Regions from separate parts of the Homo sapiens genome. Here region 1 is linked to region 2. Evidence: promoter capture Hi-C in 16 types of primary human blood cells and fetal thymus (Javierre and others, 2016). All regions are on one chromosome and are shown on one strand. The core of a region is centred on a gene start or on the middle of the fragment in contact, and the rest is flanking DNA. Distances in the headings are between cores, read along the strand shown.

What was found. The method cuts DNA at HindIII sites, captures the fragments that hold promoters and counts their contacts. A CHiCAGO score of 5 or more calls a contact.
Region 1: a fragment that was not itself captured here is called in contact with the fragment with the promoter of CBLB in region 2 in 1 of 17 cell types (fetal thymus); the score reaches 6.1 in fetal thymus.

What each region holds. Positions count from the first base shown.
Region 1 is chr3:107,057,032-107,064,796 of GRCh38, forward strand. No RefSeq gene overlaps it. Among named protein-coding and RNA genes, the nearest start is that of LINC00882, 180 kb to the right of the region's middle. The HindIII fragment of the contact is 878 bases long and covers 3,161-4,038 here.
Region 2 is chr3:105,867,081-105,874,508 of GRCh38, forward strand. CBLB (Cbl proto-oncogene B) reads right to left here and starts at 1,932. Exons shown (of 19, transcript NM_170662.5): 1 at 1,656-1,932; 2 at 330-511. The coding sequence starts at 497. It overlaps LOC105374024 (a long non-coding RNA gene), which reads right to left. Exons shown (of 3, transcript XR_007095990.1): 3 at 6,484-6,718. RefSeq lists an enhancer at 54-143 and a silencer at 1,901-2,130. The HindIII fragment of the contact is 9,979 bases long and covers 1,247-7,428 here.

The DNA of each region.
Region 1 (7,765 bases), core at 2,350-4,849, 1.2 Mb after region 2:
AATGCTCTTGAATCTGTCTCCTCTCTTCTAATAATCACTAACACATAATGCTTGCTATGTGCCAGGCATATTTATATATATCAATATATTTAAAATATTTATCCTCAAAACCACCCTATGTGGTTGGTATAGTTATGACCCTCACTTTATCAGTGAAGAACCTGAGCACAGAGAGAGTAAGTGGCTTGTCCAAGTCACACAACTGGGAAGGGATCTGAATTCAGAAAAGTCTGGCCCCATAATCCTCTCTCCTAACAATGGCGTTCCACAGCAGTGGTTTCTTTTCAAGTATTCATTAATTCAACAAGCATTTACTTTAGTATTATTATGTGCCAGTAAATGTGCTAGGTTCTAATGGTATATCAATTAATATAAGAGGGCTGAGGAGCCAGCCATGCCGTGGGCAGCAGGGGTGAGACCAGGGAGAGGGAAGAGCATGGTCAAAGTAGGGAAAAGCATCCCATACGGGAACTTAAGGAAAGGTTGTGGGGCCAGAGCAAGGTGGATGAGAAGAGAAGTAGGATTCTATTAGAAAAGAAGTAAATCACTTTAGTCTATGTAGGTTTTCATTTTGTGCAAAGTGCAAGGGAAAGCCATTAACAGGGTTTTACGCTACAGAATAGGGGGATCAGACTTACACTTTTAAGAAGCTTCTCTGTCCGCATTGTGGAAAATGGATTGTAGAAGCAAAAGTGGATATGGAGAGACATAGAAGGCTGTTGTCACAGAATCATCTAGAAACAATGGTGGCTAGGTGGCCATGCTGGAGGTGGTGGAATGGTGTTTCAGAAGCTGAGTTGACAGGATTGGTGTTGGAGTAAATGTGGGAGTGGATGAAAAAGGCAGAACCTGGAGATGACTCCTCTGGCAGATGGGGGGCTCTTTTCTAAGATGAGAAAGACTGGAAGAGAAAGAGTTGAAATCAAGAGCTCAGGAATTTTTTTTGTTTATTTGTTTGAGATGAAGTCTTGCTCTGTCACCCAGGCTGGAGTACAGTGGCACAATCTCAGCTCACTGCAGCCTTTGCCTCCCAGATTCAAATGATTCTCCTGCCTCAGCCTCCCGGGTAACTGGGACTAGAGGCACCCGCCACCATGACCAGCTAATTTTTGTATGTTTAGTAGAGAGGGGGTTTCACCATGTTGGCCAGGCTGGTCTTGAAATCCTGACCTCAAGTGATCCACCCGCCTTGGCCTCCCAAAATGCTGGGATTACAGGTGTGAGCCACCATGCCTGGCCAAGAGTTCAGTTCTGAAAGGTGATCTTAAGCATCCACCTTTGTGTATAATCAAAATATGACTTGACTAGCCTCACAATGGGAGACAATAATAGAACTCCCAGAATGCTTTAAAATCTGAGCAAAAAGAAAGCATATTATCTTCCTAGGAGGGGACTCCAAAGAGGGAATAACTCCTACAATTTCCCTCCCAATGCAGGATCCCCTGGTGTAGTTGCAACAGAGAAAAGTTTGTCAGAGAGCACCTGAGGCAGTCAAACAGACATCCTTTGCCCAGCCAGCAATAGCATGGGAGGGAAGCCCAATCTCTCTGGTCCCTAGAAGCACGCAGAACTTAGCTGAAAGGGAGTCCTTGAAGCGTCCTGGGGTCAGAACAAGGAACCTCCCTGCAGCAGAGCACTTTGCAGCCAGCCACCAAATGGTAACACTGACATCTCCGATGATGGTAGCAAGGAGTGATACCAAAGGCCAAACACCAGACTGAATGAGTGACATCTCAGTTAGTGAATGCATGTATGGAGAAAAGATAGCTTGGACCAGCATCAGGACATTGACAATGACGCTCACTTGGAGAAGAAGGCAGGGGAGTTAATTAATTAATCTAGTTAATTAATTCCTTTAACATCTAAAACAATAGAATGAAGGTGACTACATTTGTCAGGAAACTATTACAATTATGTATGTTGCCTTTAAGTAGACTATGGATTGATGAGTTTTGAAAAGTAGTTATATTTATTCAAACAGCTAGGTAAATTTACCTGCATATTTGTACTGAGTACAACAGTAAGGATTCATTGGCCTTTGTCCCTCAAACCCTTTCACAATCTTCTGGGAGGTTCTGCAAAGCATTTCACATGAACTCATGAACGACTCTACCAATGCCATTCAGCTCATTCAACAACTACCCCTAGTTGCATTACCAGGGTTGCTTCCCCTAAGAAGGGATCTCAAAGTAGGGCTGCTTGGACCTTGATATCTTATGATGACTTGAATCCAGTAACTTTTCACTTTGAGCTCTCAGACACAGACACATCCCCTCTGCCAAACACATCTACATCCACCATATGACTCAGCTACATGTCTAATAGAAGTTACGCTGAGAGGCTTGGCATGGTGGCTCATGCCTGTAATCCCAGCAATTTGGGAGGACGAAGGAAGCGGATCACTTAAGGTCAAGAGTTCAAGACCAGCCTGGCCAACATGGTGAAACCCCATCTCTACTAAAAATACAAAAATTAGCCAGATGTGGTGGCAGGTGCCTGTCATCCCAGCTACTTGGGAGGCTGAGGCAGGAGAATTGCTTTAACCTGGGAGGCAGAGGCTGCAGTGAGCTGAGATTGCACCATTGCACTCCAGCCTTGTATGCTCTTGCACTCAAACAAGAAATCTTCATTACTGGATGAAAATCAAATTCCTTTGAGAATAAATTATCTCACCAAGAAGACCATTGGTCTCTCTAGAAAGAAACTTCTAGCAGGCATACCAGCATATCTGTTATGCTTATTTGTCTAAGTCTCTTTGACTCAAGCTAGACCCCAACCACTCAAATAACTGACAAAAGTCTTAGAAATTGTCGCCCAGGTACGAAGAAGCTGAGCACCTGGTTAGGCTTTTGGAAAAAGAATTTTGATGCAACTGGGTTCTTATGGTGACTGTCCCTTCACAGATTTTTTTAATGCAAGTGTCACCAAACCCATTATAAAGACAACCAGTGACCATAATGACATGTTTATGCAGTGTTGCCAACCACTGACTCTTGAATAACCAGATGGGCTCTGTACTGAGGTTCTCCTCTTCTTCCTCCTTTTTATCCTTCTTTTTTTGCCTGTAACTCCAGGGTAGAATTTAGGTGGTAGCTTACATATCATTTCTTCTTTCATTCATTTACTCAGAAAATATTTAAGGAGGGCCTCTTAAGTGCCAAGCTTTGGTTCTAGGTTGCTTGCAAAACATCAGTAAAAAAGACAAAAAGGTCATTGAGCTGATATTCTAAAGGGGGTGGATGAAGGAAAATAGACAATACAAAAATCATTTGCTATGGTTAAAATAATCCAGAGTGATTGGATAAAGAACACCTAGGGGAGTAGCATAGTTCTTTCTGTAGTCTTAGCAGAATCTAACTTCAAAATCAGAACTATTATGCCTCCAGACTTAGCCAATTATTTGCATCATCCTACCCTTTGCAATTTTAGGTGACTGATCTATGTGGGGAATTGTAATATCATTAATAGTTATTCATTTTAAACTCTAAACTCACCACTGCCATGAGACCAATTTAACAGCATGGTATACGTAACGGTACAGTGGGTGAGAAGGGGTACAGGCTTCAAAGTCAAGTACAGGAGGGCTCCAGTCCCTCATCTGCATCTTGCTATCTTGGTGCCCTTGGGCAAGTCACTTGATTTCATGAAACCTCATTTTACTTATCTGCAAGATCACGGTAGGAACACTTAACTCGAAGTTTTGTTATACAGAGCAAAATGATAATAAAATTAAATCACATATGTTTACTTGTTTTGATTGAAGAATCTAAACTCATTAAACTATAAACATGGAATTATTTTCCCATCTTCCCAAATAATACCTATCAAATGTCTCCTTTCACCTTCTTTTTACCTAGGTACAAGCTCCTTATAGATCTCTCACCTCATTCTTATGACATTTCTTCAGTTTGGGTTAAGATTTTCTTATATTTATTTAAACACCTCCCTCTTCCACAAAAGCAGGACACACTACTGACTAGAAGTGTTTGAGGGTAGGGAGGAAGGGGTGTGTTCTCCAGAGAAAGCACTCTCCATCGAAGCTTCAGCAGCAGTGAGAGGAGGCAGGGAGAGAAATAGTTACTGGAGCAACCACGATGGTGGGTGACAGGCCCACCATTCTCTTTCTTTAGGTTGTTGCTATTTTCTCTGTTGAACATTGACTACTTGGCAATTTCACCTTTGAGAGAGTTATCCAAGCATTGGCTCTTTGTACGTTCTTGGAGGGCCTTTTTGGCCTCTCCCACTGCATGTCCCTTGGCTAGGAGACCAGGTTATAGCTAAGGCTATTCCTTCTTGCCTTAACACCAGCTGGAGCAGAAAGGTATCTACAGTACTGCCTAAATCACAGCCACAATTAGTGGTGTTTTTCCAACTCATAGGAAATTCCCATGTTCTTACTAAATATAGGGTTTAAAGCTGAGCCCCTGACATTCCACTCACACCTCTGACATCTCTCTCCTGCCCTTTTATCCAAGCTCAGAATTACCAGATAGTAGGTTAGCTCATGGTTCAGCAGCTTTCAGAAAGGAGAAGGTCATGAGCTGTAGACCTTTTGGAAAGGAAATAATTCAGGCATTCACTACCAACACCCACTCAGAATTCATACATTGAAATCCTAACCACTAATGTGATGGTATTAGGAAGCAGAGCCTTTGGGAAGTGATTGGTCATGAGAGTGCAGCCTCCATGAATGAAACAAGTGCCCTTACAAAAGAGACCAGGGAGAGCTCTCTCACCCTCCTTCCATCATGTGCACATACAAAGAAGTCAGCAGTCTAGACCCCGGAAGAGGGCCTCCACCAGATACTGATCATGTTGCCACCCTGATCTCAAACTTCCAGCCTCTAGAACTGTGAAAAATAAATAAGCCACCTAGTCTATGGTATTTTGTTATAGCAACTCAAACTGACTCAGAGATCTACTTAATACACCAATGTCAAAATCTATTTCTGAGGCTTAAGACACATCTCACCACTCCTAACATTAATGTCAAAATCCTTATACCAGGGCCTGTCAGTCACCACAGAATCTGATCCAGACCACAACTCCAGCTCTGTCCCATGCCATTCCCACCCCTTGCTGCCTGTATTCCTGCCCCACTATCTTCTTTAAGATCATCAAACTGCCAGGCTACTCTTCATCTCAGTATAAAAATAGACAAAGAGTCTTCAAGACAGAATTCTGAGGAACACCAATATTTTACTGTAGATTAAAAGAAGGAGAAGACAGTAAAGAAAACAGAAGTATCCAGTGAAGTAGAAAAAAAAAAACAGAAAATATGTTATGGCAGAAGCAAAATAACGAATGCATTTCTAAGTAAAATAAGTGGTTTACCTAATTAAATGCTGCTAAATGAAGCCCAAGAATTTGACCAGCTAGAAGAGACTGGAGACCTTGAAATAAATGTTCTGGTAGAGAGATGAGGTCAGAAGGTAGATTGAAGTACCATAAAGATGAGTGGGAGGGAAAGAATGAGATAATCTTATTTGATAGCAGGAGTAATATTTATTAGCACTTAAATTATTTTAATTTAAAGTGGCTTTAACTCTTTGCCAAGCACTATGCTAAGCACTTTGCAAGCATTTTCTCATTAAGTCCTCACTTAACACTATTTGGCAAGGAAACTAAAATTTAGAGGGACTAAATAAATTGCACAACCACACAGCTAAAAAGCTGTGGGAGACTGAATAATGGCCCCCAAATATATCCAGGTCCTAATCCCTGGAACTCGTAGTGTTACTTTATATTAAAAAAAAAAAAAAGGCTTTACCGATGTGATTAAGGATCTTGAAATGGAAACATTAACTTGGGTTATCAAGGTGGGCCCTAAATATGCTCAAAAGTGTCCCAAGAGGGAGGCAGAAGGAGATTTGACACAAAAGAGAGAAGACAATGTCATGGCCTCAGCAGAGAGGGAGATTTGAAGATGCTACAGTGCTGGCTTTGAAGGATGGGGTGGGGAGCAAAAGAATGCAAGGAATGCAATTCTAAAAGTTGGAAAAGGCGAGGAAACAGATACACTTAGAGCCTTCATAGGGAGGACAGCTCTGAAATTAAGATATCTTAACTTCAGCCCAGGAAATGGGTTTCAGAATTCTGACCTCCAGAACTAAAAAATAATAAATGCCTGTTGCTTTAAGCCACCAAATTTGGATTATTTGTTACAGAAACCACTGGAAACTAATATAGAAGTGATCATAATTCGATCTCCAATATAGTTCTACAACAAATCTAAGGGTCACACATATGGAAGGAAAACACAGAAAGGGCAGGAGGAAAAAGAAAGAGATAGAGAAGAATACAGAACAGAGAATTGAAGGGAAGAGGAAGAGAGGGGAGGGGAAAAAGTGTGAGGAGTTGCGAACAGGAGCAGAGAGAATAAGACCCCAAACATTGTTAAAGTCCATGGCAACTTCATCTTAAGGACTATTATCCCCACCTGAGTCAGAATGAGTTGGCATTGGCCCATAGCTACAAGTTATCTCCAGGGGGTAAAATTCCAGTGCAGAATAACCTATAAATACTGTGGCATCGCAGCTAGAGAGAAAACAGATTGATGTAGTCCTAGTTTGGAGGTCAATTGGCTCAGTAACTGTTAGAAGCAGCCAACAGTTAAAGACACAAATATTACACGGTTGGAGATAAAGTTCCAAAAAGAACAAATTGATTCATTTTGTACCACGAACTCAACTCAAAGTAAAGCCCTACTTCGCTTTTTAAGATATATTTTGTAAGGTTTTCATTTTTTGTTTTATGTTATTATCCTGTTATGACTTATTAATGGCTATCATTTGCTATAGTGAAATCGTATTGAGACTTTTCACTCAAATGCTCTAAATAATTAATCTATTTTCAAGAACGCTTTATAAATGCATTGTTATTTAATTATCTTATTTAATTTCATGTTTAAATAATGCTCTGGTATATATGAATCAATGGCCACATCTTAAAAGACATACCTGTATCCAATATTCAATAAAAGAAAAGGAAATTTAGCAGGAAAATGAATGATTTGTGTGTCTAACACCACCATTTAAACAACCTGAAACTCACGGCAACATTTGTCCCTTAGGTTCAAGGATGTATCCGAGGGTAGTCATGAAAATTCAATTCTTAACGCTGACTTGCTGTGCTCTCACAGGATTCTTTTCCTAGTTAGAGTTACAACATTTTTCCTTAGGAAATGAGACAATGCATTTTGAAGTTCTCTAAGGTTAGGAAGAGATTAGGGAAGAAACATTTGCAGTCCATATATAGATTCTAAATACCCATAGAATGATGATTTTCCTAATTTTCTAACAAATATTTCTTATATTATGGAGCTAAAAGCTACATTTTTAAGGGAGAATTGAGAATAAGGAGAAATGGTAAGGTACATTTGTGGGAAGAAACGCATTTAATTCAGTCTCTCCCTTTCAAAAACAGAAAGGGAAACAGCAATCAACACAACATATGGAGTATCTGTTTTTCGATAAAAATGCCAGGTAAAGAGGTCTTATTTAAATCCACACAGACAGTATTATCCTCCCCTTCTGAAGATTGTTTTTCCCCAGGCACAAAAGGTCAGGCATATTGTTGAGTCTGTTACCCAAAGACCCGAGTAACAGTGACATCTAGTGGTGCACGGTGATATAGGACGTAGAAACGCAAACGCTTGCTGAGAGCCCAGAGCAAAAAACCCTAGAAGGAAGCTGCTAAATTTAAAGTTTCCTGATTTCTGTGGCAACAAAATTGTATTCTAATGTAATCAGTTACTCCTGTCTCA
Region 2 (7,428 bases), core at 682-3,181:
CAACACAACCTCACAGAAGACAGAACAAACACTTCCAAGCATTCTATGGCCATACACCAACAAAAAGCAGCCAATGGTAAAACTTTACATACTGAGTCATGTAGAGGAACTCTGAACCTTAAAGAGTAGAAAGGATGAAAGGTTAAAAAACAAAAAAGTCTTTGAATCCAACTTTTCAAAAAACACAGAGTTGAAGAAAAATGATGAATTGAAATCAAAAGATTGTTGCCATAACAATGGTTGGTATTAATTAACAGTATAAATAAATCTGGAGAAACCACAGACAAAGTGAATAGTGTTTCGCACAGGCAACGTCAGACAGAACTTACCACTTTGTCCATGAGCTTCCAAGTCTTCTCCACGGTCCTGCGATCTGCGGCAGCTTGCTTAGGGGGTCCAACTGCATCCTGAATAGCATCAATAATACCCAAAATTCGACCTTTTCGGGGATTTCCTCCTCGACCACCAGGGTTTCTGCCATTCATTGAGTTTGCCATCTGGAATTTTAGTTCTTTAAAAGGCAGATTTAAAAAAAGAAAAGTTAGTTGGTTTTGAAAATATTTACCCACCAGAAAACTAGAGACTAACTTGTACCACTGCATCTTCCTCCATCGATTAGAGCAAAACCAAAAGTTCCGGATTCATCTTTATCAATAAGCTTGTGAATTTACACTCTCAATCTTTACACACAGTAGTTTTAAGAGCAGTGATCCTAGATTTGCTTTTACAATACTAAGAGTTAAAGATGCATCCTGCTCACGTTTCAAGTAGCTAAGGCTGAACTAATACTCAACTCATAAAAAAAAAAAAAAGAACAAACAAAACTTAAACAGGTTTCCCCCACCTAGATAAAAACAGAATGTTCTTCCCCTCCTGCCTTAATTCCAATTCAAAATACCAGAACAACTGAAGGTCCTATCATACATTTTGGGAGCCTTACGCAGAAACTTCACTTTCACTCTGTTAGATTTCTCCAAGTTACATAAACATAAAGATTATCCTACACAAACGTAAGGGACAGCTCTGTTGTCAACAAAAGCGCAGGGCATGTCCCACACTAAAACCACCAAGTACGGACACACGAACACCTTTCTTTAAATCAACGCGGTGAGTCGTTATTCCCAAGAACCAAATGAAATTAACACACAAATAGCCCATTTGAAAAGAGAAAAGAGAAAAATGACAAGAGCGGCCACGGAAAGGAGGAGTTCACTTCTCTGGCTCCTCGCCTCTGCCCTCAACCCAAAGCTTTGTTTCAGGACGCCTGTGTCCCTTCCCTGCTCAGGCCCCTTCCCGGCCCCTCGGGTCTGAGCTGCAGGAGGAAGGTGGACTGGGAGGGGACAAAGTGTCCCTCCCGTGCCCGCAGCACCGTCCGTCTAGGGCGCGGGAGGGACACTGTGGGCTCGGCGCCTGGGTGGACGCGCCTCCCGGCCGCCTGCTGCAGTCCTCACCGCCGTCTGCCTGGACGCCCTCTCCCTCCTCCCCGGCCTGCGGGTTCTGGTCTTTAAATGCCCCACTTCAAACTGGACGGCGGCGGCAAAGGCAGCTGAGAGCCAGGGCTGTCCCCTCTTCCTCCTTGGCCCGCGCCTGGCTACCCCGGGCCCCCGGGCCGGCAAGAAGTGTGGAGCCTCCCCGGCGACCCCTTCCCTTCTTGCCTTTCGGCGCCGTAGCTGTCCAGAGACACGCGTGTGCGCGGGTCCCACTCCACACGCACGCAGCCCAGTGTGTGTGGGGAGCCCCGGCTGGGAGTGGGATCGCTGAGAACAGCTCGCTCCCGAAGAAGGAGCAACCCAGCGCGCAGGCCTCCGAGACGTGGAAACGCAACAATTACCGTCAAGACAAATCCACACCCGCTCTCCCCTCCCGCCCGACTCGGGGAGGCCGCGGGACGCCGCAGCAGCACTAGCAGGAGGAGGAGACCGCTCGCTGGACACCCCACCCCTGTGGCACACACAGGACCCAGGCTCGGGGCGGGGCGGGGCGGGGGCGGGGCCGGGCGCCGCTGAGCCAATGCCGCGCAACCGCGCACTGCCCGACAGCGGGTGCAGCCAATGGACGGGAGGCGCCCGTCCTCCTCGCGCTGCCGCCCCGTCCACGTCCTCCACAGTACACAATGGCCCCAGAGGAAGGCCCGCTCGCAGCACGTCAGAAAGGAATTGGACTCGGAGAGAAATGAGGGGCCTGGACTCTCCCGGGAACGAAAGTGGAAACGGGAAAGGAAATGGACGAAGGGATGCAAGGCACGAAGGAGCTAACCAATAAGGGGTGGCAGGTGGGCGTGAGCGTCGGGACCGGGAGCCAAAGCCATCTGGGGCTGAAAGGCGGGACTTCCTGCTTCGCTTACCTTCCTAGTCTTTTGTTTCATAGCAACAGAGTAGTGGCTGGAAGGGTGTTGCTTCTCCGCTCTGGGCGGGTCCAACGCTGGAGAAATTCATCTCCCTAGGGCTGCCAAACCCTTCTACCCAGGACAGCAGCCAAACAGGTCTATGACGTTGCTTCTTGTTGGCTATCAAAAAGAGCAACAGCCACTGAGCTTCTAAAATGCAGAATAAATCTCACAGAGAGTAGGCTGGGGTGACATCTGAATGCCAACTGAAACTTCCCAAGTTTCCGAGTTTCTCTTTTGCTGTTAGTTTTAGAGGGATTGCAGACCAAACATCAGGCTGATGAAAAAGCAAATAGTTGACAACGCTGGCCAAACAGTCTCTGCTAATCATGCCAAAGCAATAAAAGTACCAGATAATGGGAATTGCTGATAAATACCTTGCACCTTTTTACTTAGTGCAAGTTTCTGCCTAAATGACTGAGGAGGAGACAGCTACTGTGTTTTGTCGGAGTCACCTTTACATAGATTTCTATCCATTTAAAAACAACCTTACTGTAGCTGCCATTCTCTACCAGCATTGTTACCTCTTTCTGTGGCTCCCTTCTTTGTGCTCTTAAAAAGGCCGACATCTGGCTAGTCTTTAAAGGAGAAAGCTACTGTGCTGGGACTTGTCTTTCAGCAATATCATAGGTTAAACAAATGCCTTCCATTTATTTCAGTTTACTTCAATCCCACCACTCATGCTACCAACAATTGCTCTGGACTTCATACTTTGGAACTTTCTTTCCACTACAGTTGATAGCGTTTATTACACTTTTCAGCTTGGACATCTCAGATGTTCTGATATTTTACATTGGGTTTTTTGTTTTTGATTTTGTTTTTTCAAATCTTGCTCTAACCACGTAACCTGATAAAATGTTTCTCAATGGTTCTAACCACTTTCTAGCAACTAAGAATTTTAATACTGTAATTATTACTATGAAGGATCCTGAGTTTTCCTTTACAGCCTTGAATTTACATGGTTAAGATTTTAATTTGACGAAAACAGAAAAAAAATGTGCCTTTGCAACCAGTCAGGTGATAAAGTGTGATTCAGGAAGTAATTTTGTTTCCTTGTCATTATTTCTGTGCCAGTAATTAAAGAGTAGTTCCTTGTTTTCACATTGCATTTATCTACAAAAGTGCTGGCCTCTCCATATCTCCTCCACCCATCCATATCTCTTTTACTCATAGTCGTAGTAGCTACATTTACTAAGGGGAGACTGTAAAAGAAAAAAACTGTGTTACCTTTAAAATAAATTTTAAAAGAATTAATGTGTAGAAGCATGTAGCAAAACAGTGGCTTAAGGGAACATTATAACTAAGTATATTACTTATATTCATATCTGGATAAATGTAAAATACCCAAAATACATGTTATAGCATGTGCCATTCCTTTTATATGGTGTTTTGCAACTGAAAGAGATGAGTTAATGAGAAAATGGCATTGCCTATGGTATCAAGCATATCATGTTGATATAAATTACAAGTTTTGAGGTGTATGGTTTGACGTATTTTGAAATATATGTATGTGAGATACGGTAGCATCCCTTACCACTTATTTGCCATCTCACTTTCCTTGGTTCTAGTTACCTGTGGACAACCAGGGTTTGAAAATAGGTGAGTATAGTACAAAAAGATATTTTGAGAGAGAGAAAAATACCACATTTATATAACTTGTATTACAGCATATTGTTATTATTTTATTAATAGTTATTGTTATTAATCTCTTACTGTGACTACTTCATAAACTTATCATAGGTATGTATGTATTGGAATACTCATAGTATATATAGCGTTCAGTATTTTCTGAGATTTCAAGCATGCACTGTGGGTTTGAGCATATCCTGTGGATGAAGGGAACTGCTGTATGTACATATGTACGCATGTGTGTGTGTGTGTGTGTGTGTGGTCAAGAAATTATAGCTTATCATCAACTAGCTATTTTATCAAGCAATCTGGAATCCAGGTTAAGTTCTGGTGTAGCAGGGTTCCCAGTTGAGCTGAAACTCGGATTCAGTTTGGTTTTCTCTCATAAACTGATGGAGCAGTAGAAGTCCTCCCTGCCAATTATTAGAAAAAGTAAATGTGCACGGGGAATAAATAACTGCTGGGATAAAACTTCAAACCCCGGGTGCCTCCAGTAGAGACACAAGAGATAAAGCACAATAAAAGATGCATGCTTCAGGACTATAAATAAGAAGACAAAGAAATGTTTCCATAAGAGATTTTAGGACATAAGCAGTAGTACTTCAAGCTGACAGAGTTGGCTAGAGAAACAGTCACCTCATTTCTATAGAACAAGTCAGTCCCCAGTAGGGTGCAGTTTAAAGTGAATGCAGCATCAGTTAGCAGTGTGGGAAATTGTAACCTAGAAAGAACATGTATATGGCCTTATTACGGGACAGCAGTGTTCTACTGGAAGATCCTGACATAAGACAGAATGGTGGCGCTCCTACATGAAGGATCTTGTAAGCACAAGGGTGGCTAGTAAGTGAGTAATGTGAGCAAACCGGTCATAAGGACATGTGAGACCCTTCCCCCAGGTCTCCCAGAAAAGAGGGGGAGACTTCGTGGCAAGAATACTTAAGAAATTATGTAGAAACAGCTGTGAACCCGTGTAATTTGAGCATTACTGTTTGACATTAATATATGTACCAATAGGCTGGTGCCATCTAGAAAAATGCGGCTTAAATTCCAGTCTGTAAACACAAGACATTAAGGAAAAAAAAGACAATTATTTGAGGAAAATATTTAGACTTTTGTCATTTGCTTTAATTTTTCTTTTCTTCTATTTTTTCCAAATTCACAACTGACCCCTGTGATATTGGACATGAGTTGACTAAATAACAAAGCCCCTCCATAACTTATGTAACCCATAATAGCTCAAAAATATTAATTGAATAAATGAATTGACTGTTTAAGAGTATTACATACAAAATATAATGCTGTTCCTGTTTCTGCACAATGGAGAATTCATTTAATTCACAATTCCAAGCAAGATTTTATTTTTACTATTAAGTAGATTTACAGTGACGATCCTAACACAAAAACAGAATACCACAACAGAAATTTCTAATTTCTCATAGAGAACACGGACCCAAATCTCAGGTTAGAGAGAAATAAGAGCAATATGACCTCGTAATATTTGGGCATAACAAGTTGTTCTTTGTTACGTGAAATAGAGTTCCATTCATCATTAACCCATTACATTTAATAGTTGGCATTGAGGGATGCTGATCCAGGGGCTCATCAGATATAACCAGACTCTGAGTCCTAGCTTGGGCTCAACTAGAATGCTAGCTTAACAACAACAGTATTAACAACAAAAATAACAATGACTTAAATAAGATAAATCTCTCACACATAGAAAAAGGTCTGAAAGTAGGAATTACAGGTAGATATGGTGGCTCCACAATTTTCTCAAGGACCCAAGTTCCTATCTTTATTCTGTACCATCCCAGCCTTGCTTCCCACCTTCAGAATCACGTCGTGTTCCAAGATGGCTATTGGCTCTCCAGCCATCACCACTGATTTTCAGGCTAAAAGCTAAGAGGAAAGGCAGGAGGGCAAATGGATCTTCCATCTGAGTTAGTTTCCTTTGACCAATCTTCAGAGAACTCTCACAAGTATCTCTCTTAAACAACTCAAGGCCAGAATTTAGTCCCATAGCCAAATTTAGCTGCAAAATCTGGAAGGCAATATGTTTTTTATTATGGGAAGCAATATAAAAATTCTAGTTTGTTTCTAAAGAGAAAGGGATGAATAGATGTTGTAGCAAGAAACTGGCGAGTCCTACCACAATAATACTCTAAAAGTTAAATATATTATTAATAATTCACTTCTTGAAGGAAAAACTGAAGATCCCAATGCAAGTGGTGTAAGATAATGATAATTTTGTATACTCATTTGAAATCCAGAACAATATGTGCATGCACACACACACACACACACACACACACACACGTAATCTTAACATCATTCCCTTAGCCATATTTATTAAAAGCTGCAACCATTTCTTTAGTGGGCAGAAACATGCATCTGCTATTACTAGACACATATATCCTTTAATGTCTATCATATGTAAGTATATATAGTAAATTATATACAATTCTCATTACAGCATGTGTGCTCAATAATCCTGAACAATCAATATCAGAGCGTACAATGGCAAAATTAAGCAAGAAACGTTCCTAATAGTTTTCCATCCCAAAGTTTACTTCAGATTAAACAGTTACATATCTGAAGAACAAATGAATGTCTTCACAATCACTTCTTTGTGATTTTCTTTCCCAGACAATTGATTCCCAAATCAATTCTTTTCCACACAATGATTTATTTGGTAGTTGTTCTCTGTAATAAAGACGATTTATACCAAAGCATTAAATATTGCTACTTGTAAACTTGGAGTAAACCTACTATTTTGTCTCAGTTCTATATTTTTTTCATGCCCCTCTCACGTTTCCTGTGTTTCCCTAAGAAGCCATGATTCAAAAAAAATGGACAATTTTCTTTTCCCTCAAGATTTTTGTGAAGAATGTAAAGTTAGAATTTGTTATAACAGTGTCTCTACAGTCCCCATGCATTTTGATTAATACCAAATAAATACAACACTGAATTTTTATTTTTATTTTTTAATTAACAATATAAATTCAGAAATTTTAAGGCTGAAGGGGATCTTGGTACTGATCACACCACTCAGTTTGCCAGATGAGGAAATTGGCAAATTTATCCAGGGTGATTGAACCCTAAAAGGTGTAGGTAATAAACCTAAATTCATGGATTATGTTATAGTGTAAAAACCATGTAATTACATGAAAAGTAACTGCTAATCAGAATAAAATTAACATAGACCAGTTATATGTTCATTTTTCTACTCAAGAAGGCATATTAAGATCCAAAACAAATATAGAAATCAGAAGAAAATGACCTACAGAAGTAACTCTAACAATGCCAGTAGAGATCTAATATATTGCAAATCTACAGAAAGTCTTCCCTATTGGTTTTCAAGTTCCTATTCTCAGTATAAAGGAAATGATCTTTTTCTATTTTAATTATCTTGT